5 separate regions of the Homo sapiens genome follow, and regions 1, 2, 3 and 5 are each linked to region 4. Evidence: promoter capture Hi-C in 16 types of primary human blood cells and fetal thymus (Javierre and others, 2016). All regions are on one chromosome and are shown on one strand. The core of a region is centred on a gene start or on the middle of the fragment in contact, and the rest is flanking DNA. Distances in the headings are between cores, read along the strand shown.

Region 1 (4,590 bases), core at 90-2,589, 2.3 Mb before region 4:
CTTAAGAACACTGGAATAGTCTTTTTTTTTTTTTTTTTTTTTTTTTGCAGAGGAGAATGATACTTGAAGATATATGTGAAATTCCTAAAAGTAAGCATTCAGTATAAGTCATATTATCATCTTATATTTTGCTGTTGACATAGGAAAAATGCAGTTGATTGTCCTACCAAATTAAAGAGTCAATTCTTTTGGGGGAAAAAGTATTTCTTTTAGGCTTGTATTTACACTTCGTATAAAAGAACTTCAAATCGTGAGGTCTTAATCTTGATATATTGCTTGTTACCATATTCCCAGCACCTACAATCATGTGTGGGAAATAGTAAACACAGAATATCTGTTAAATGAATAACGCTTTTGAAAGATATAGTCTCTAAAAAATGGTTTAATGTAAATGCCTCTTTTTAAACTATAAATTGCAAAATATCCCCACTTCTAGAAGTATTCTCTCATAATATAACTAAACACAAAAATGGTCACAATACATATACATGGTAGTTCCAACAAAAGTTCCCTTTATTTCTTTCATATGGTGTCTATCTGATGTTGTATCATTTTTAGTCTTAAAGGCTGTCTTACCCTTGTGGCAATACAGAGAACATAAATAGTATAATACTTCTCTCACGTAAGCTTAAGGGAAGGAGCTCCCCCTGCTGGCTGTATATATAGTTTTCTCTTGCCATAACTGACAAGAGAAAACAAACAAAAAACTCCTGAGTCACTAACCAGCTGAGTGAGTTTCAGCAAAGTTCAACTTTTCCAAGTTTCCCTTTGCTCAACCAAAGGTTGTGGGTAAATGGAGATCATTTTTTAAAAATTTCTAGTAGCTCCCAATTACCGTGACTAAGATTCAGTTTTCCTACAAATCAACCCCTTTATAACGAGGTCATAAGAAACACAAGTAAATTATGACAAAATGAAAAAAAAAAAAAAACTCTTAACTTTAAGATGCTAAAGAGCTTAAAGAAAATGAGGAGAAACTGTTGCTAAAATATGCTGTATGCAAGCTCAATCAGTTTCTTTCATCTAGTCATATTCTAAGTTATTTCAGGGTAGACCAGGCTGCTAATTATATATCAAAAACATACCTAAAACGGTTATCAATATTAACAAATTTGTAATTAAATTCACAATTTTGCAGGCAAATTCCAAATTTAAGGCAAATCTACCCTAATCTAAATGATAACTTATTTTTGTCTCTCAAAAGAAATGAGTTTATGAAAAAGGAAAAAGCACATCTGGGTAAGACGGAAGATTGAAAAAAAAAAGCATCTAACTTTGGTCCCCACCAAAACCACACTAAAAATATTGTAAAGATAATTTTTAAATCATAACCCGCAAGGACCAGAGTGAAGGACAAAAAAAAAAAAAAAGGAGCGTGGAGAACAGCAATGAATTTTTGAAGCTGGAAAAGCAAACAAACATAAATTGACAGAGGATCCTAGAAAGCCAAATCCCAAACTAACAGGAAAGCTGAAATCCAACTTATGTTATACTACACAGTCCACAAGAGACTTGGGGATTGGCAACCAGTTCCCCAGGAGGCTTGACAAGAAATATGGGGAGAAGGCTGTTGAGAAGTAGTTGGATCCCTCGTTCCTCTCTTCATAAGGTTGGGCAATTACCACTTTCCCACCCCTGCAAAAGTTTAAGAGTCTTATTTTTGAAGAGAGTGATAACAGAGTCCTTGGACAACCAGCTGAGGGTGAGTACCTTACCTAAAACAGGGACTCAGTGGCCATATGCATACTGAATGCAGAGACTCCCAGCTCTCTTCACCCCACTCGGCTCCCAAAATACCAGCAGCCAGACCTTCACCCTTCGAGCAGGAGATCAGAAGACTCTTCCTTGAAGAATCTGACCAGCCCAGATGAAAGACTTGAAGATACTGACCTGAGGGGTTCCACAACAAAGGGCCCATCCACATGGCACTTCAATGAAGCTCAAAGTCAATAAGCCCTGCCAGGGAGCCCAGAGTTCAAGTCAGCATTTAGACTCCCACACTTACTTATGAGCAGACAGCCAAAGAATACCAGACATCTAAGGAAAGCTTCTAAATATAATACAGTTTTGAAAGTTTCTTTCCTCCCTGTATAATCTTATCTCTTCCAAATTGTTTTCTTTTGTCTGTTTTAGTCTCTATCATAATATCTTTAGAGCAATAAGAAAATATATTGCATCTATGAAACAAGAACAGGATACCATATAAAAGAAACATTCAAATAGCAACCCAAAAAGATTTCTCAATAACAGGACTGGAAAATAAAGTTGAGGTAATCTCCAAGGAAATAAATCAAAAGAACAAGGAGTTGGAAAGCGAGAAAGAGAGAAAACGTTACAGCCAGGTGCAGTGGCTCACACCTGTAATCCTGGCACTTTGGGAGGCCGAGATAGGGGGATCACTTGATTGAGCCCAGGAGTTTGAGATCAGCCTGGGCAATGTGGTTGAAACCCCATCTCTACAAAAAATACAAAAATTAGCCAGATGTGGTAGTGTGCACCTCCCAGCTACTCAGGAAGCTGACATGGGAGGATCACCTGAGCCCCAGGAGGTCAAGGCTGCAGTGAGCCACGATTGCACCACTGCACTCCAACATGGGCAACAGACGAGACCCTGTCTCAAAAAAAAAAGAAAGAACATTACAGAACTTGTCTATAAGTTCCAACAGCCAAACAATAGAACCCCAGAAAGAGGAAAAAGAAAAAAGAAAAAGGAGGGAGAAAAATCAACAAAGAAATAATTCAGAGAAAATTTCCAGAACTGAATGACAAAAGTTGCCTGATTGAAAGAGCCTGTCTAGGCCCAGTGACAATGACCTGAGTGAAAACAGACCCACTCCAAGCAACATGATTGTTGTATTTCAGGAACACCAAGAACAAGGAGAACAGTCCACAAGCTCTTAAAGGGAAAAAAAATAAACAGTCCAGGATAAAGTGTCAGGCATCAGAAAGGCTTCAGCCTTCTCAAGAGCAACAAGACAAGTGAGAAGGCAATACAGCAAGTATAGAATAGTCGATCAAAGCGCATATATTTAGAATCAAGACATTTGACATTTTCACCCGTGCACAGTTACCAAAAACTTACTTCACAAGCACTCTCTCTCAAGGGGATATGGGAAACAAAATAAAAAGAATAATCAAGAAAGAAATATAAGATCCAGGATACAAGAGATCCACCACAGGAGAGAGACAAAGAAAGCCTCCACAATGAGGCTCCCAGGATGGCAGTGCATGCAGATGGAGCCCAGCCAGTAGGGAGTGGAGCAGCGTGGCTCAATCAACAGTCGTGTGAGGGAAGTCAACACAAGAGGCTTCCTGCTGCCGGACCATCTTTCTAACTGAAGGACAGAATGCCCAGGAGAACTCATCCATATTTTCATCTGTACTTGTGGTTTTTATTTGTGTTTTTGTTTTTTAGAGATGGAGTCTTGCTCTGTTGCCCAGGCTGGAGTGCAGTGGTGCAATCTTGGCTCATTGCAACCTCCGCCTCCCAGGTTTTAAGCAATTCTCCTGCCTCAGCCTCCAGAGTAGCTGGGATTACAGGTGCGTGCCACCACGCCCAGCTAATTCTTTTTTTTTTTTTTTTTTGTATTTTTGGTAGAGACGGGGTTTCACCATGTTGGCCAGGATGGTCTTGAACTCCTGACTTCATGATCCTCTTGCCTCAGCCTCCCAAAGTGCTGGGATTACACGCATGAGCCATTGCGCCCTGCCTATTTTTATTTTTTATTTTTTGAGTCAGTATCTCACTCTGTCACCCAGGTGGGAGGGTAGTGGCACAATCTCAGCTCACTGCAACCTCTGCTTCCCAGGCTCATGTGATTATCATGCCTCAGCCTCCCGAGTAGCTGGGACTACAGATGCATGCCACAACGCCCAGCGAATTTTTGTTTATTTTTTTTAGTGATGAGGTCTTACTATGTTGCCTAGGCTGGTCTCCCACTCGCAAGCTCAAGCAATCCCTCCTGCTTCAGCCTCCCAAAGTAATAGGATTACAGGTGTGAGACCCCACACCCAGCGAGCTTGCTCTTTATTTTTTATTCAAAGCTCACCATGGCCTTGCTCCTGCTCCTAGAAGTAGGCCAAAGCACAATACTTCTGTGGGCATGGAGGGGAGAGCATGGAAAGGCCTTGCTGAGCTTTGAATCAAAAACAAAAAGCAAGCCTCTCCCCCAACCTAGTTGATTATTCCATAACTAGCCTAGGCTGGGCATAGTAGTTCATGCCTGTAATCCCAGCACTTTGGGAGGCCAAGGCAGGTGCATCATTTGAGGTCATGGGTTTAAGACCAGCCTGGCCAACATGGTGAAACCCCATCTCTACTAAAAATTAAAAAAAAATTAGCTGGGTGTGGTGGCACACACCTGTAATCCCTGCTACTTGGGGAGGCTGAAGCAAGAAAATCGCTTGAACTCGGGAGACAGAGGTTGCAGTGAGCCAACATCGCACCACTGCACTCCGGCCTGGGCAACACAGCAAGATTCCATCTCAAAAATAAATAAATAAATAATAACTAGCCTAAAGCATAGCCTGGCAGAAGTCACAGGGCTCGTTTATAACCTTGCCCTTTGACTTCCCCAGAAGGGAACCTAA
Region 2 (4,399 bases), core at 627-3,126, 2.8 Mb after region 4:
TCACAATGGAAATATAGCTAATAAGTTTAGCTAATTCATAATCACATATCAAAAAAGACTGTGTAGAAAATGAAAACGAAGGCTTTAATCTGAAAGGTTTCTGAAATACATGCAGAATATACAGAATATATAACACATATAAAACAATTAGAAGATAAAACAATCACAGAAAAATAGACAAAAGATTCATGAGGTGCTTCATTCTCGTTGATGAAATAAAAGATAATTGAAGTCAAACATTTTATCAATATATGTAGGACTGAAATGTTTGACCAAGTTCTGTGTTCTATTTTAAATTACCAAGAGTACTCGGGGAACAACAACCTACGTTTTTTCAGCCTGGAAGAAAGACTACAGTGGCTTACACAGAAGCCCAGCAACATATAAGTAGGTTGAGAATAATGTTTGAACATGTTATTAAATAGATACTTCTAATGTTAGCTTATCCTTCATTAAAAGATAGTTTTTCTAGCTCACTTAATAATTTACCTTTACCTTATTTTGAGCACACAGCAGAATACTTGGGAGGCCCACAGTGCATTCACACCACGTTTCACTCTGAGTGTAGAAGTTGACAGTAACTAAGGCATTAATTTTATATTTACTTCAATTAGAAGAATCAGAGACCACAAAAGTGTGCGTGATTGGAGGGTGGAATGGAAAAAGTAGACAGAATTATAAACATATGAGGAAATACTGTAAATATAACTAAAATGCATAATTTCCTCAAAACAAAGATAGATTTCCATCACTGGAATTCATGAATAAGTATTACTCAGCACCATCCCACATCCCCACCCCAACCCCCCTACCTAAATAAAACCGTAGACATGATTTTTTAAAATCATACTTTCTTAGCATATAAAATTTGAAGTCCTTGAAGTGTTTATAAAGACTTTATATTTTAATAATTGTTAAATGTTAAAAAATAATGTTTGTATGCCTTAAAATTCAAAACAAAACTATGTTCATACCACATAATCTAAGTGTTTTGCCTCTGAAGTTCCTTGTAATCTAAGAATGACAGGAAAACAATTAGTAGCCTGGCAATTCTGGTACAAATTGAAGGGCATTAAATGGTGCACAGAGAAGTAAGGCATTCAAATCAGATTAAATATTAGGAAACATATGACAATGACTACTAATAATTAGGAAGAATCCACACCATAAACAAGGATCCTTGCTCAATGGATGGAGAGTGAATGATGGGTGGTAGCCTATAGTCCAGGGAATCCAGAAATCATCACAGCCATGATCACTTTACAGTAGTCAGACTTCAGCTTTCGGATGGGGTTCAAGGACTGCTCTATCCAGGAAAGAAGACTATAAACAACATGGCAGTGCTACAATACTCACAGGGATTGGGAGACAGATTTCTACAATCAATAATCAGTGTGAGGAGCAGTCATGAGTTAACCCTAATAACAGAGGAACATGAAATTCAAGCTCATGAATGCAGGCATTTAACTTACCAAAAAAATAGCAGTCTAGAGAACAGTGGTGGAGACCCATGGATAAACCATAGTGCACCAAGTCTTGCCTTAGACTTGTTATTTAAAAACACTGCTAAAAATGCAACTGTCCAGTGGGCTGTTTAATTATATATTCTGCCTCAAAAAAAGATTGTATTTGGGCTTGAAAATACAATTGATGGGCCAACTTTGCATAGCTAAGGAAAATAGAAGGCCATAAGCTCGGACATTGGTGTGAAGGATAATTTTTTTAAGTACTACTGTGATTAATAAAAACTATAAATATTTCTCCCAGTTTGGAGTGGGTGAACTCATGTGCCTAATTTTATTGGTTTCTGATTAATACTCCCATATGCTTCCCTTTTGAGCCATGTTCTTATCGTACATTTGATTTCTCTTCCTCACAAATGCTTGCCTCCTACTTCCTCCTCTGCTACACAGGCTCTCAATCATTTCTTTTGCCAATTTCCTATTTTCTGTTCCTTCCAGTGGAGACACACAATGTCTACGCTATCCTGCTGTCTCGAGGATGAAAATACAGGCACCATTCTTTTCACGAAACCAAGAACAGGAGTGACTAGAAAGGCCTTAGTCATCAACTTTCCAGGCTGACAGAAATGCAAAAATAAATACTATGACTTCCAAATACCACTGCATGCCCTGAACACACAAGCAAGGTCAATTGGTTGATACCTACTTCCTTAAAATTAATTCTAATTTTTTTGCTGTCTTCCTCTTTTGTAAACATACCTCACTGTAAATTTTTTTTTCAGAGGAAAGGGTTTTTATATGAAGCAGTAGGTAATTCCCAAGTCAATCAGTTTTGCTTTGCATCTAGAATCTCAACAATGAATCTACAATACTCAGAGTTCTTCACTATGGCAAAACAGAATAACATGAATATCCAAACCTTTTTCATAGGCAGGGAACAATGGTTGCAAAAAGCAAAATCCACACAGTGCAGTTTTTAAGAAAAAGAGGAGAAAAAAAAAACCACACAGTATCAACACAGAACTCAGCTGCAGAGTGTTGTTAGGCAGCTGCCCTCTCTGTCTCTATAAGGAACAATTCAGTTGCTATTAGCATCATCTAAGTGCTAACGTGTGGAATCTGGGGTTAGAATGTCTAGTCTCAAACACCATCTCTATTATTTACTAACTTTGTGAATTTTAGTGAGTCACTTAAAGCCTCAGTGCCTTGGATTGTTTTCTGTAAAAACTGAAGTAATAATGGTCCCTATCTCAGGTGTATGGATTAAAAAAGGTGACACATGTAAAGTGTTTAAGATAGTGCCTGGGACAGTAGATAATCAATGTAAATCATTATTATAATTGCTTATTTAGAACATATGTCCCATTCTTCTCCTTGCCTAGCAATTTATTCCACTTGCACATGCCAACAGAGCCACCAGTTCAGAGTTAACAGTATCTCACAACTGTAGTGCCCATAACCTCTGGCATACTCAGTCCATGTCATGTGAGGTACACATGACCACCTTCACCTGGTCTGTGGGTAGGAACAGATTATCTTAAAATCTGTCAGCAGGAAGTCAAAGACCTGCCTTTCTGGTGTGAATGTTTCTAATTTATAGATTTATAAACATGTAAATGACACAAAGAATTCACATTACATGTATTTTCCCTCTCAAGATAATATTAAAATAACATTATGAACAAATGAAGCCAGATGAGGAAAAATGTTCTGCTTCTAAGGTGATGAGGTCACTGTATGCCTGCAAACCTTTTAATTGAAACCGGATAATCACTTTTCATGGATTCAGTAAGATTAATTCACTGGGTAAAATAATGGGCTAAATAACCTCCAAGATTCTTTGATTGCACGATTCAATTTTACACAGAGATTGTGTAATACAATGCATGATATTAAATTGAAATGAAGTCTTTATTGCAAATCAGGAATGTAAATTTCCCTTTGTTTGACTCCTACAAATCCAAAAAGGAATCTTGTAAATCAGATTAGGTAAAGGCTAAATGTTCATTCGAATAAAAACTATTTGGTAAAATGTTCATGTTAAAGTGTGAAGTCACTCTAAAAGGTTAAATGCTCACATTAGATACATTTAACATTTAGGGCTATTAAAATAGTTGAGAAATAAAATAGAGTCATGGAAATTTTCTTTATAATCAGGTGTTGCAAATGGGAAAATACAGGAGCAGAAAAATCACAAAATTATATCAGCATTAAACTTTATATAGAAAACGCAGCCAATTGCCAAGTAAAACATAATTTCTATTATCAAAGATATCATTTATTATGCCAATATTTTACGGAAAATAGGTGATTTCCACAAAATTCAGAAAAAAAGTGATTTTCAGGCAGGGAGAAGAGGATGATAGTGCTAGTGATACCATTTCTCTTTGAAAGTTCTTGATCATAATATCTATGTGTACTTTATTACCAGAACAACTATTGGAAACGGAAGATCACACACCTTAAGAGTGTGATTAACAAACAATTAAGACTACAAACTATGATGTATTTTGGACTTGGAAGGGAGCATTCTACTTTACAAGAATTAGTTTCCCATAATATTTATTTTAATTACAGTGGTGAGTGCAAAAACTGTGGAAGGAAAATTCCAGCTATTTCAGCAGATTGGCAAACATTAGCCAAAATTTAGGAAACTTACTCCTATGCTTCTTGAATACAGGTGACTTTTACTCATCTTTTTTGCCCCATTATTGAATAGAACGTTATTTGTAATTTCACAGGTCTCTCATGCTAGAAAGAATGAAATGAGATTATATGGAAACATAGATAGAAAAAGTATTACATTTATAATAGTATAGCAATTTATGCTAGCCATGTGGTTTAACAAATGTTTAAGTACGTGGTATGTGGGATAAAGCTTTAGAACAAGGTGAGAAAAATGATTTAGGGATGCTGAGTTGTGTAGCTGATAAGCA
Region 3 (4,394 bases), core at 1,895-4,394, 2.7 Mb before region 4:
AAAGAAAATGAAGACATATGAAAAGTAATTCATGATGGCTTCCATATGATAGATGCATTATTCTATTTTTAGAGATTACCTCTGTTACTATAACTTTTATAACCTTTTTGAAGAGCTAATTTCCTAAGAAATATATTTTTTAAATAATGATATTAAACATGCAAAATAAATTATTAAAACCTAACTTATTTTCTTCCTGGTAAACTCTTGTTTAAAAAAATTTTGGCAATATTGTTAATAAAGAATATTATTAACTATATATATAATATATAATATATAAACTGATGCAGTTTAAAGCATAGATTATTAAAACAGTGAAATCCAAAGGTTACTGCTCAACTATACTGTTACTGGTTCACTTTAAAATCTATGTTAGGGCAGGGCACGGTGGCGCACACCTGTAACCCCAGCACTTTGAGAGGCCGAGGCAGGTGGATTACCTGAGGTCAGGAGTTTAAGACCAGCCTGGCCAACATGGTGAAACCTCATCTCTACTAAAAAATACAAAAATTAGCCGGGCGTGGTGCCATGTGCCTGTAATCCCAGATACTTGGGAGGTGGAGGCAGGAAAATCACTTGAACCTAGGAGATGGAGGCTGCAGTGAGCCGATATTGCACCACTGCACTCCAGCCTGGGCGAGAGAACAAGATCCTGTCTCCAAAAAAATAAAAAATAAATAAAATCTATGTTAAAAATAAATCTAAATATGAAAATCAAAATCCAAAGTTATAAGCAAATAACTGTTATAACAATTTCCACAATTAGTATTAAGCTATGTTCCCATATTAAATGGCAGCAATTTTTAATGTATAATCAATACAAGATTAAAATACATCTTTTTTAAAATGTTATTTTAAGTTCTGGGATACATGTGCAGGATGTGCAGGTTTGTTACATAGGTAAACGCGTGCCATGGCAGTTTGCTGCACCTATCAACCCATCACCTAGGTATTAAGCCCAGCATGCATTAGCTATTTTTCCTGATATTCTCCCCACCCCTAGAATATATCTTCATTCGAATTTAGATTATATCATTAGTAATAAAATTTTCACAAACAAGTTAGTAGTACTTATTTATTAACAAATACATTTTGGAGAGTTCCAACAGTTTAAGGTGTCCTTCTCTTTTAAACAACTTACAAACTATATAATTATCTTTGCACTGAGGCTATAAATTTCCATTTATATAACATATTTTTCAGATAGGGAAAGTTAATATTGAATAATCAATGAGCAAGGAGAAGCAAGCTTTAAGAACTTCCCAACTCTTAGGAATCATGAAAATAATTTTTCATGATTATTTTAGTGTCCCTGAAATTATCAAATGCATCATTTCCATTAAAACATATATGAGTATAAAGGGAAAATATGAAGTTTATTCAAAAGGAGCAAAAAAGGGAGATCAAATGTATGAAAAGTTCTTTATATCCTAAAAATGAACAACAGAAAGAACAAGTTGTAATTGGTAATACAAATCAAAAGATCACTTTCCCTACCAGTTTTGAGACTGCAAATATTTTAAAAATTAGAAATAGTTTTAATATTGTATTATTGTTCTATGTATTATATATTATAGTTTGCTTCATAGCAGATGCCCCCTCCCCCTTAATTAATCTAAAACCTTAAGGATAAATAGTTCCATGTGATTCATAATTGTTGAATGAATACAACTTTTCCTAAAGTTGTTAGGTTTCATAGATTATTCCTGCCACTTCTAGGATTTTATGAATCTATACTTGTCACAGTTTTCTGAAAATAAAGACAATAATAGTAGAGAACATATATCAAGTCCTTATTTATACATATTAAAAGGCAATCTAGAAGAACAGTTAAGAGCCACTGTCTGAGTTCAAATACTGCCGCTTCACTTACTAGCTACATGACCCTGGGCGAGTTACTTCTCAGTGTCTCCATTTACTTATAAAATGGGATAAGTACCTACCTCATAAGGATTAAATAATAATTGTTTAGCTCAGTGCCTGGAACACAGTTAATGCTACGTAAGGGTTAGTTATTATTATTACTATGTGCCATGTATGAGTTTTACTTTACACACATTACTTCATTCTCATTTAACCTATTTTTCATATGAGGATATTGAGGTTTACAATGGCTAAGCAACTTGCCTTAGTGAAAAAAAGCTAGTAAGTGGAAGGGCCAATATTGAAGCCCAGGTTCTCTGATAGCTATGCCAGTGTATCCTCAAACTAGTCTCCGTGGATATATCTGTAGAGATTCACAAGTTTTTCCTCATTATTTTTAATTTAAATCATTCTAGGGAAAATTTTCAAATGAAAAACATTTTCATAGAGTAGACTTTAATTTCTGAAATCATCAAACTGGTATATGCAAATCCCTGGCATTCACGGGAATATTCTCATAGATCTAGGATTTTTTTTTTTTTCTTACAAAGCAGTCAACTCGTAAAACTTCAAACATAACATGGAGCTTTCATTCTTCAAGAATGAGAGAATAGGCCGGCTGCTATGGCTGACACCTGTAATCTCAGCACTTTGGGAGGCGAAGGTGACAGGATCGCTTGAGCCCAGGAGTTCAAGACCAGCCTGGACAACAAAGTGAGATCCTGTCTCAACAAAAAATACAAAAAATTTGCCAGATGTGGTGATGCAGATCTATAGTCCCAGCTACTCAGGAGGCTGAGCTGTGAGGATTGCTTGAGTCCTGGGAGGTTGAGGCTGCAGTAAGCCATGATCACACCACTGCAATCCAACCTGGGTGACACAGCAAGACCCTGTCTCATATTGAAAAAAAAAAAAAAAGAATGAGAGCAACAGCTATTTTTCAAAATCCTTATTCCCCATATTCATTTTAGATACCAAGTTCGGGACCTTTTGGCTAGTCTACTTTAAGAAGTAAAAATATTTTTTAAACGACAATGACATTAAAACATGTTACTTCTTTGTAACAACTGGTCTTGATTTTAAAGAAAACAACAACACATTAAAAAAACAAACATTTAAAAGTATTCCCTTAGTAAACAGTACTAGTACTCACATTCAGCACCAGTCTCTCATCTTTACTCCAATTCTGTATCTACAAGAGCCTACAAGAATTTTTCACTTGAACAACTCAAATAATAAGCCCCAAGTAAACTCATTTTCCCTAGACCACTTTTCCCCAAACAAGATCCCTCTTCCACATCTCTAATTCCTCCAATGATATTATCATTCTCTCAGTCATCCAGGCTCATGGCCAGAATAATCTTTGACTCCTATCTGTCTCTTATTCTCTATACTCAAAACCATATGTCTTTCTTCAAATGAATTTCATTCATAGGCCCAACTCCATTCCCACTTATCCACCTCCTTCAGGTGTCATCACCCTACTCCTTCCCTCCAACCCTATCACTGTCTAAACCATCACCTGTTTATCCTTCTTAAAGGACCAATTCGATCATGCTTGTCCTCTGCTTTATAACCTCCATGAATTGCCATTACTCAACCTACAGAATAAAATCCAAATGTTGAATTTAGAACTTTTGATCATGTAAGACTGATCATTTGAGAATTTACAGTGAATTCTCCCCTTTTATAAAAGTGTGTAACCACATAATATCCTGTATGTTTCTTAGCCATTTCCTATTACTGTTATTAGTGGTGTGGAGGCTTCTACAGAAATAAGATTTCTTTTATATATCCTTACCAGATACTAAGTAGATAACCAATTACCGAGTTAGATACTACCAGTTAACAGTGCATATATCCTGAGTACCTGATATGTGATCATTTATTCAACAGATATTTGCTGAATAATGAATCTGTGCTGAAGATACTAATGTGACTTCCATCTACTAAGAGATTTCCATGTGCCAGACAACACTAGTTTAGATGCATTATCTCACTTAATACAAGTCATCCTCAGATAGTATTATCAATCTCATTTTTAGTATGAGGCAATTATATCTCTAGTATAGTCTACTTTAAAAAGTAGAGCCAAAATCAGAACTGAGTAAAAAGTTTGTACTCTTTAACACTGTATTCTACTCCTATAGAAATATTACTCTAAAGAAAGGAGCTGTCATCTATTTGGCATGGTGGACACACAAATATAATACTTTGTCCTAAATACTATGAAGGATGCAATTAATGTCTTATTTGAGCACAAAATGATGGGCCAAACTCTAGGGTAAAAAGATGGAGAGTCAGAGATATCTGGAGATGACATGTTTAAGAATGAATCACAGTTACAAAATAAAGAAACATTCCCAAAAAAGGGGATAACCTGTGCAAAGGTAGAAAAGCACAAATTTCATGACTTACTCAGAAAACAGCAAACAGTTCAGTTTTCTAGAAAGTAAGTGTGATAAGGGAGACTGGTAGAAAGGGCAAGCATAGTCAGATCATGAACAGTTTAGCCAACGAGTTTAGATTTT
Region 4 (4,661 bases), core at 156-2,655:
AACCCTGTTTCTACTAAAAATACAAAATTAGCCGGGCCTGTTTTTGGTGGGTTTTTTTGTTTGTTTTTTTTTTTTAGAGAATTAAAATGGCATTTTAAGAGAAAAAGCAAATAGTAACCAAATGTTAAATATTTCACCTCAAGAACTATTTGGAGAATTAAATTTCCATGTATTATTTACTGGGATCTCTTTAATAATACCCTTCTGCTCTGACATCTTTCCCATACATAATATAAAACCATCCTTTAACCCTATTTTACAGCTGGAAAAAAAAACCCGAAGCTCAAAGAGGTTAAGATTTATTGCTGGAACTAAATTCAGGTGTATTCGCTCTGACTGCAAGCCCAACTTCCCACTACAGTACTGCTCATAACAAGGTTTAACATGATTATGTGGATCTTCAATATTCTTCATAAATTAGGTGGCTCTGGATAGTTTATTAACACGTCAAAGGATTGATACAGAGTTAAGCTGAATGATATATACCAGAAGGAAAATTGTTTCCAATTCAGTGATATGCCATAAACGTGAGGAGTACAGGTTTCAACAAGATGGGTGGATACTCGTTTCGGGGAGCAACAAACAAGTTTTTCAATTTTGGTTTGGCCAGTTTCAAGTAAGAAAAAGGCCAGAATAGGCTAGTGCACAGTACACCTAGCTGGATTAACTGAATAGGCTCACTTCATGAACTTCACTCCTAAACTGGGAGGACAGGAGAGGGGAGAAAATCAAAGTGCCTCAGCCCTCTCCAGTGGAAACTATAAAAAGCCCTTGTGGAACAACCCACCGACTCACAAATCTGGAAAGGTGAGGCCTGAATGAAAATTAGGACTGGAAACTGGGGTGAAGCACTGAGTCTAACAGGACCAGGCATGCTCACAGTGCCTTCTCCTGACGTCACCTGAAGCTTACCTCTTTGACAGGTGGGAATTTCTTCTTGCACTCCAGTGACAAGGCGCGCAAGTCGCTCTGCATATTCTCCAGCAGCTTCTTCACCGCCTCGGGGCTGCTGGTGCCGGACATGATCCTCCAAGGTCCCAGCCAATTTCCGAGAGGTACAAACAAGCTCTGGCACGGTCAGCTCCTTAGGGCCACAGGCAGCTCCCTCCCGGTGTCTCTGGTCCTTCAGCAGCCCGCTTCTTGGGCCCTGGGCTGCGAACCCGGAGCCTGCTCGAGCGTCCCCCAGCAGCTTCCCCGCAACACCTCTGGCTTTTCTCGGAGGCGCCCCCCGCAGTCGCACCGTCCCGCTAGGCTCCGCCGACTCTGGCCGAGAAACCCACAAGGCGGGCAGGTCCCTCCGCTGCCGCGGGGCCCAGCCACACCGGGTGTCACCAGCCAACCTGGCAAGAAGCTTCAGCGCCAGCTCCCCAGGCCCCTAAGACTCGCCGACGCCATTAGCCGAGTCGCCCACAATTCCGAGCGCTGCCGGGACACGTCAGCCGCACTTCCGGGTACCGTGGCCTCCGCCACCGCCGCGGCCAACCCCGGCGGCAGGCCGTCGGCGGGGCGGGGCTGGGGCTTGGCCATGCTCGGGGCAGGCGGGATTCCGGGTGGGCAGCGATTCCCACAGCCCCACCCCCGGAATCAAGTAGGCTAGACAGGGTTTAAGGCGTCAAGATTCGCTTCGTTTTCATTAACAAGTGCCTGAACAGAGCCCCCGAGTACTCCTTGGCATATCTCTTTGCGTATGTTTGTGTTAAATTGTATTTCGGTGTAAATAATTTGTTTCCCTGTAGATTAATCTTAACGTGTCTCCTCCCGCTTCATTTCGAATCTCTGGACTAGTGGCCCCAAATCAGTGGCTACCTCCTGTTAATATACATTTTTTTTCTTTAAACGCAACTGGTGCACTTACTGTGGGGTAGCCTCTTATTTTCCTAATCTCTAAAATGAGACTACCCTCTGCTCCACGCATTCCGCTGGCCTCCCATCTCACTCAAAGTAAAAGCCAAAATTCCTCCAATCACCTACCAGGCGCTACGAGATCTGTCCCGGCCCCTTTACTGGCAGATGCTCCCAGCTAAAAGGAGAGTTTCGCGAGTTGGGCTGCCGGTTCTTCCTCTTTTTAAATCTTATTTTGTTTCCTGTGTATCTCCAGCACCTAGAACAGTGTCTGGCATATAGCAGGTAATCAGTACATACTTGTTGAATGAATACCCTTCTATTATAAAATCAGAGTTTCGAGGCTCAAATAAGGCACAGATACATAAAAGCCTTCATCAGGTCTGAAGTGCCAAATAAATATGAGGCAAAAGCCAAACAGAAAAATCTTCATCTGTATTTCCCCAAGATCCAGGTTGGTCTACTTTTTCCCCAAGACATTTTGCAGCTGCTGGTCAGAAAGCAGAAAATGAGGGAGGAAAAACCAGAAACAGTAGAGATGAAGAAACCAACACCTTCAGACAGCTGAGCTTATGACATGATGGAAGACAGTGAGCCATGAGATTGTCAGTGGATAGCGCTGTTTGGCTGTAACAGAGCTACTTTGTAAGCTAAATAATTTTATTTTATTTTTCCTTCTGATAAGAAGCAAAGCAAGGATGGATAAAGGGGACAGATGAGGTAATAGTAGAGAGCTCCTAGGGCAGTAATTTTGATCATTTGTGCCTATTACACAACTTCTGGGAAACTTGACACCTCCTATGGTATAAGCTTTATGTATGAAAACTGGTGAATTTAGCAAAAAAGTTCAAATGGAATATATGGCAGACATTATTCTTGAGGTCTCAGGGAGCTTGTAAAAACGAGGCGCTTTTTTTGGGTGGGGGGTGGAGACGGAGTCTCACTCTGTCACTCAGGCTGGAGTGCAGTGGCGCGATCTCCACTCACTGCAACCTCCACCTCCCAGGGTCAAGCAATTCTCCTGTCTCAGCCTCCCGAGTAGCTGGGACTACAGGCGTAGGCTGCCACGCCCGGCTAATTTTTTGTATTTTAGTAGAGATGGGGTTTCACTGTGTTGCCCAGGCTGGTCTCCAACTACTGAGCTCAGGCAATCCACCTGCCTTGGCCTCCCAAAGTGCTAGGATTACAAAGGCGTGAGCCACACCGCAGGCCTTTTTGTTTGTTTGTTTGTTGTTCTTTTTAGTAGAGATGGGGTTTCAGCATGTTGGCCAGGCTGATCTGGAACTCCAGAGTACAAGTGATCCACCCACCTCGACCTCCCGAAGTGCTGGGATTACAGGCATGAGCCACCACACCTGGCCAAAAATGATGCTTTAGTAATTGGGCTAGTGATATAGGATCAAATTCTCTGACTTTCACTATGTAGCCAACTTTTCTTTTGGATTTTTTACTATTGGTAACTTTGGCATGATTAACTCAAAATCGTTAGAATCTTTTACATCTCTGTTCAGAGTTGAGGACATGCAATTGGAATTCATTGATTGAAAACAATACTTCTAATGATTTGAAAAGCCAAATTTTAAAAGTAAGGTGTAGCACCTGGGTGCGGTGGCTCACACCCATAATCCCAACAATTTGGGAGGCCGAGGCGGGTGGCTCACCTGAGGTCAGGCGTTGGAGACCAACCTGACCAACAAGGCGGAACCCCGTCTCTACTAAAAATACAAAAATTAGCCAGGCGTGGTCACAGGCACCTGTAGTCCCAGCTACTTGGGAGGCTGAGACAGAAGAATTGCTTGAACCCAGGAGACAGAGGTTGCAGTGAACGGGGATGACACCACTGCACTCCAGCCTGGGCGAGGGAGTGAGACTCTGTCTCAAAAAAAAAAATAATAAAATAAAATAATAATGTGTAGCAAGTACTTATATCAAGTATTCTGTAAATTTCTTTTAAAAAAATACACAATAGCCTTTTATGTACATATGCCAAGAGAGATTATACTGCCCCAGAAACAATGCATGGCTTTATGCCAAAGCCAAGCAAGTTACCAAAGGTAAAAATAATTTTTTATTCTACAAGTTAACAAATCAGCTAAAGTTAAGAGTTAGCATTTCAAAAAACTGAATAATTTCTCTTTCAATAGCAAAACCAAATATTCAAATACATATTTTTGTTCTCAAGTATCTCAAGAAATACTTTCAAAATTGTAGCATACCTATAAATGTCGGTGTGGGTATAAAACTCCTCCGTGGCTACCAAATCTCTCTTCATTGAAAATTACATTAATAAATGCCTGATAAATTTAACCATTTATTACCATAAGTAATGCTTTCACAGCATTGTTACATGGTAGTTAGGCTTCAGACTCTGAAGTTGGAAAGCTCTAGTTTGAATCTGAGTTCTGCTGGTTACTACCTGGGTGACTCTAGCACATTATTTAACTATCGGGGGAACCCACCCCCAATATTTCAGTGTAGGTTCTTTCTATTTCTATAAGTGTCGGCCGGCTGAGAAATAGAGAAAGAGTACAAAGAGAGGAATTTTACAGCTGGGTCTCTGGGGCTGGAATCATATATCCGTAGGACCATGATGCCCACCTGAGCCTTAGAACCAGCAGGTTTTTATTAAGGGTTTCAAAAGGGGAGGGGGTGTACAAACGGGGAGTAGGTCACAAAGATCACATGCTTCAAAGGGCAAAAAGGAGAACAAAGATCACATGCTTCTGAGGAAACAGGACCAGGGCAAAATCAGAAACTCCTGATAAGGGTCTGTGTTCAGTGGTGTACGTATTGTCTTGGTAAACATCTTAACAGAAAAC
Region 5 (4,588 bases), core at 1,269-3,768, 2.8 Mb after region 4:
AGCTACCGTGCCCGGACAAGACTTTATAACTTTTGATGCGCACTAAAGCCAGGGTCTAGGTTGTCGTTAACATCCGGCAAAGTTTCACATAGTTTTGCTTTGCTTTGTTTGTATTTTTTTGTTTTTTTATTTATTTTGACCACCCACCTTTACTAAGTTCTAAATGAAATAAATTCTCCTGTTATATTACTATTTTGATTTTATGCCAAATGTTATCAATATTTTAAGCCAAATATTCAAACTTATCAAATGCTGTATCCATATTTCCGATTCAAAATCTGCCATATGCTCAGAGTTGCAGCAGGACAGATAATGCTTTTTTAAAGGGTAACCTAAGAGTTATCTCCATGGATAATTATGTTCTTTTGTGAACTGATGTAGGTCATTGATGAAATAGTTTCAAAGTCACTCTCCAAAACTGAAATACCGATGTGACATTTGGTAAATTTTCAGAACCTATTGAAGTGTAACACCACGATTTTCTTCAAGAATACCACATAGTTTGCCAAAATTCCCTCTGTGCTGTGAAAAGACTGCTAGAAGACCAACGTTTTCAGACTGTTCAGCTTGATTACACTGGTGTGGTCCCATTTATCTACAGCTATTTTAAGCATCTTCTTGAATTACAGTAAGCTATATTGTAAATCTAATTATATTTGCCCACAGGGAAGTAAGTACATAAGAAGCCTGCTCTGTAATCTGCTTAATAAAAGGCACTCCAGTTTTCTTCATAGCATTTATCAAAAATTGTCATTATACAGTTGTTTATATTTCTAATGCCAGTCTCTTCCACTGTAACTTCCATGATGATATATGGATATGTTACATATGCAGTACCTAGCAGTGCCTAGAGGGCCAATAAATGTTTGATGACTAAATGAACAAATGAATAACTATGTAAGAGACAACTAGATTTATAGACATATATGCTTACCACTTTCAACTTGTGCCGAAAACTTATATGTATATTAGAGACTCTTGGGGTCATAGTGCAGAGTAGTGTAAGTACAGACTTTCAATTCAAATGGAATGGATTTAATGTCAGAAATGTTATTAGTTCTATGATCCAAGACAATTGGATTGAGCTTTCTTACCCTCTGTTTCCTCATCTGTAAAATGTGAATAATTACATTGGAGTAAATATTAAAGTTAATGCATATGAAAGTATGCAGCATAGTCTGTGGCAGAAAGTAAAGTCTAAATCAAGGAAGTAATATCATTTACCAATATTTTATACAGAATCTAAGTGAATTATATTAATCTAAATTAATTATCCAAGTGCTTTTAAAAATTGACAACATAAATGTATTCTGAGGATATGCTGGCAGTGATAACTCATCAATAATCTATGGCTCTACAATAAACTTTCCAACATCCTTTGTGCCTGTATTCCCAATTATTATAAGGTTTTTCAACAAGTTACTTTCAACTAAGTTTCAGAATTCTTTACTCTGTGTACAATTTCCAAATTCTTCACAACAATTATGGAATCTATCTCAACTGAACTCTATAAAGACAATCTTAATTGATGGTTAGTCAATTCTCTAGTCTAGATTGCATGTTCTTCCTCAATCAATTTTTATTTCATTATTGCCCATTCATTCTATAACTTTGACTACTATCACAGTGGGAAAAGTCATCATCACTGAATTGTGCTTTGTCTTCTGGACTATACCTTCCTTGAGGCTCTATCTTCTGCATGAAGAATCAGATCCATCTTCATTCTTAACTTTTATTCATCCACTAATGCAATGTACATTTACTGTGCACCATCTATAAGACAGGTACTGCATTAAGCTTTAGAGTTACAAAGATTAACACATAAAATCCTGAGTATCAAAAAGGTCACAATCTAGTAGGAGATGCAAATGAAGAAACATAATTATGAAAAATATGGTAAGCGAAATAAATATGTGCATGATTTTATGGGAACACTAAGAACGGATATCTAACCACCCTGGGGTGAATGAAGGGCAGAAATAGGTTCCAGAAAAAAAGAATGGTTAGAATAATTCTTAAAGGATAAGGAGGAATCAATGGGCTAACAGGACTATAGGTAAGGAATTCCAAGCCTGAGGGTCAAAATGAAGCACGGAAACAAAGGATAATGAATCTGTACAGGAAATGCTAACAGAGCAAATTCATTTTGAAATACTTGTTAGATCATCTATGCAGTTCAAAAACTTTGTCTCCAGAATGTAAATGTATAAGAAAGGACTTAATTTAGATTGTGTTTAAATTGAAATGAATTAGCATTATAATTTTTTAAATTGATACTTTTTTTGTAACACTATATAAAGCAATATTAGAAAACATATGGTTTGCTAGATGCTACTCAGTGTTTTAGGGCACATAGATACAGTTTTGATAATCCAAAATGGTGAAGTATTACCACTATTATACATCTTCCCACCAAGGACAAACTCTACACTGCCTTATTAATGACATCTAGGAAAGGGCCACAAAGACATTCTATAAAAAGAAAGTGACATACATTGAAAAGTACAATGAATAATGGTTCTTTAAGCCCTGGATTGTAGAAGAGCATCAGAATTGGCTCCCTTCTTTCACTAACGGAAAATGTAAGAAACAGTGACATCCAATAATGTTAAGCAACTCTCCTCAAATTAGAAATATCCATGTAAAATGGCTCCCTTCAATGTAAATATTAGAAAAGTTACAAAGGCAATATTTTGTACAACGGACTAATTTTGTTTCCTATGCTGATACCTGCTAAAAAAAAATAGCCCTAGAAACTATTGCACAATTATCATATATATTTGGACTCATCAAAAAAGTATTGGCTTATAAATAAACTATTTTTATATCCTATCAAAGCAGAAACTTCATTTTTCATTCAGCATGGTAACCCCATCAAAAGCAAAGTAGGCTGTAAGAATTGTTTTTGAATGAATGAATAAATGAATGCATACCATGTATAAGAATAGACTCTGGAGAATTTGGCAGCAAATGAACACACAATGTCTCTGCCCTAGTAGGGAATACAAATACATTAAAAAGACTGCTTTGTATCAATTAAATTTAAAAAGGATTATAAGAATAAGACATGGTGGAAATTGGTTCTTTAGCTTGTGTGATAAAGGAGGCCTCTGGGATGGAAGAGTTAGTGATAAGATAGAGATTTACCCAGGTAACTACTTTGTATGTGCTATTTCATCCATTTCTCCCTACATCATTTCCTGGCAGCTATCACATCTCCAATTTATAGATAAAGCTTAAACAGTTAAATAAGATTTTTCAAACAATATGTATGTATAGACATATAAATATATATATTTTTAATTTTCTATACAAATGTTGCCTTCAGTGTTTTGTTCAACTAGAAACCTTTCTAAGCATGCAATTTGACCACATAAGTCATTTTTTCATACATGCAGTTCCTCTTTAAAAAACCTACACAATATTAGTTTTAAAATTCTTAAGGGAACTTTGGCAAAACACCAAAATATTTTCTTTTTTTAATGTTTTAGAAAATACATTTAGAATATCAGACTCTTTATGAGGCTTCCAAGATGAAGGATGGGTATTTTCAGTTTTTAATACATGGCAGAACTTGTTTTGGATAGGGGCTGTGAAAAACTTTCATTGTATCTGTCAATCAAATGGTAAAAAAGGAAAAAATCATTGAAAAAAAATCCTACACAATTGCAAACACATGGGATGATAAACAGTTTTAGTAGTAAACGGTGGCATGGATCCTCTTGTTATCTGGATAGACAGAATTCGAGACTATTTTAGGAAAAGCACTACTTTCTTTTTCAGAATGTCACGTATTTAATTTCTCATAACAAGCAAAAATAACAATCCTAATGCTTGGAAAAGTGAAATTCTAAATTATTTTTTCTCTGGGGGGGCATAAAGTTCAAGTTAACCCAAGATTTAATTTCAAATTATAAAACAGGGACATTCACCAAAATTTAAATAGGACACAAAAGTTCTAATCATGAAATGTCCCCCAAAAGTCAAATATTAAAAACATTAGAGTAAATTGCAAATTCCCTTTCGTTCTGCTTACTAATTGTGTTGAGCCTAATGTCTTCTTTGTTTCTAGCAACATTCCTGAGTTTCCTTACAACCATTTAAATTTGGCATGTGGCTGAGAAATAGTTACAACTGTTAATGCTGCTCCAAGTACTGGGAAGGTGGCATGCCTAGAGGGAACATGAAAGCTGTGTACCCCCACCCACACCATGTCCTGTGCACCAATTCCGTGTGACTATTTCTGAGTTATATCCTTTATAATAAACTGGTAACTATAAGAAAATGTTCCCTTGAGTTCTGCGAGCTGTTCTAACAAATTATTGAACCTGAGTAAGGAGCTGGAATCCCCAATTTGTGGCCATGTTGGACAGAAGTTGTGGGAGATCTGGGGACATACTACATGTGATTGGCATCTGAAGTATGGAAACGTATTGTGAGATTGAGCCCTTAACCTGTGGAGTCTGCACTAACTCTGGGCCATTAGCATAAGAATTGAGTTAAATTGTAAGACACTCATTTAGTATGAGACAAAATTGGAGAATGGTTGGCAAGGGAAAAATTATCATATATTTGGTGTCGGAAGGGT

Evidence for each region. The method cuts DNA at HindIII sites, captures the fragments that hold promoters and counts their contacts. A CHiCAGO score of 5 or more calls a contact.
Region 1: a contact is called between a fragment that was not itself captured here and the fragment with the promoter of MON2 in region 4, in 1 of 17 cell types (activated CD4 T cells). The highest score is 5.2, in activated CD4 T cells.
Region 2: a fragment that was not itself captured here is called in contact with the fragment with the promoter of MON2 in region 4 in 3 of 17 cell types (total CD8 T cells, naive CD8 T cells and total B cells); the score reaches 7.2 in total CD8 T cells.
Region 3: a contact is called between a fragment that was not itself captured here and the fragment with the promoter of MON2 in region 4, in 1 of 17 cell types (non-activated CD4 T cells). The highest score is 6.4, in non-activated CD4 T cells.
Region 5: a contact is called between a fragment that was not itself captured here and the fragment with the promoter of MON2 in region 4, in 1 of 17 cell types (total CD8 T cells). The highest score is 5.0, in total CD8 T cells.

Annotation. Positions count from the first base shown.
Region 1 is chr12:64,792,485-64,797,074 of GRCh38, reverse strand. It overlaps a transcript of TBC1D30 not described here. Among named protein-coding and RNA genes, the nearest start is that of TBC1D30, 30 kb to the left of the region's middle. The HindIII fragment of the contact is 1,420 bases long and covers 630-2,049 here.
Region 2 is chr12:59,618,201-59,622,599 of GRCh38, reverse strand. The region is part of intron 1 of SLC16A7 (solute carrier family 16 member 7); the gene reads right to left. Among named protein-coding and RNA genes, the nearest start is that of SLC16A7, 24 kb to the right of the region's middle. The HindIII fragment of the contact is 4,935 bases long and covers 1-4,343 here.
Region 3 is chr12:65,176,228-65,180,621 of GRCh38, reverse strand. All of the region lies in intron 1 of LEMD3 (LEM domain containing 3), which reads right to left. Among named protein-coding and RNA genes, the nearest start is that of LEMD3, 8.8 kb to the right of the region's middle. The HindIII fragment of the contact is 3,785 bases long and covers 1,252-4,394 here.
Region 4 is chr12:62,463,570-62,468,230 of GRCh38, reverse strand. MON2 (MON2 regulator of endosome-to-Golgi trafficking) reads right to left here and starts at 1,405. Exons shown (of 35, transcript NM_015026.3): 1 at 913-1,405. The coding sequence starts at 1,023. RefSeq lists enhancers at 749-1,248, 1,244-1,353 and a silencer at 1,384-1,703. The HindIII fragment of the contact is 1,301 bases long and covers 1,354-2,654 here.
Region 5 is chr12:59,639,714-59,644,301 of GRCh38, reverse strand. All of the region lies in intron 1 of SLC16A7 (solute carrier family 16 member 7), which reads right to left. Among named protein-coding and RNA genes, the nearest start is that of SLC16A7, 46 kb to the right of the region's middle. The HindIII fragment of the contact is 1,438 bases long and covers 1,800-3,237 here.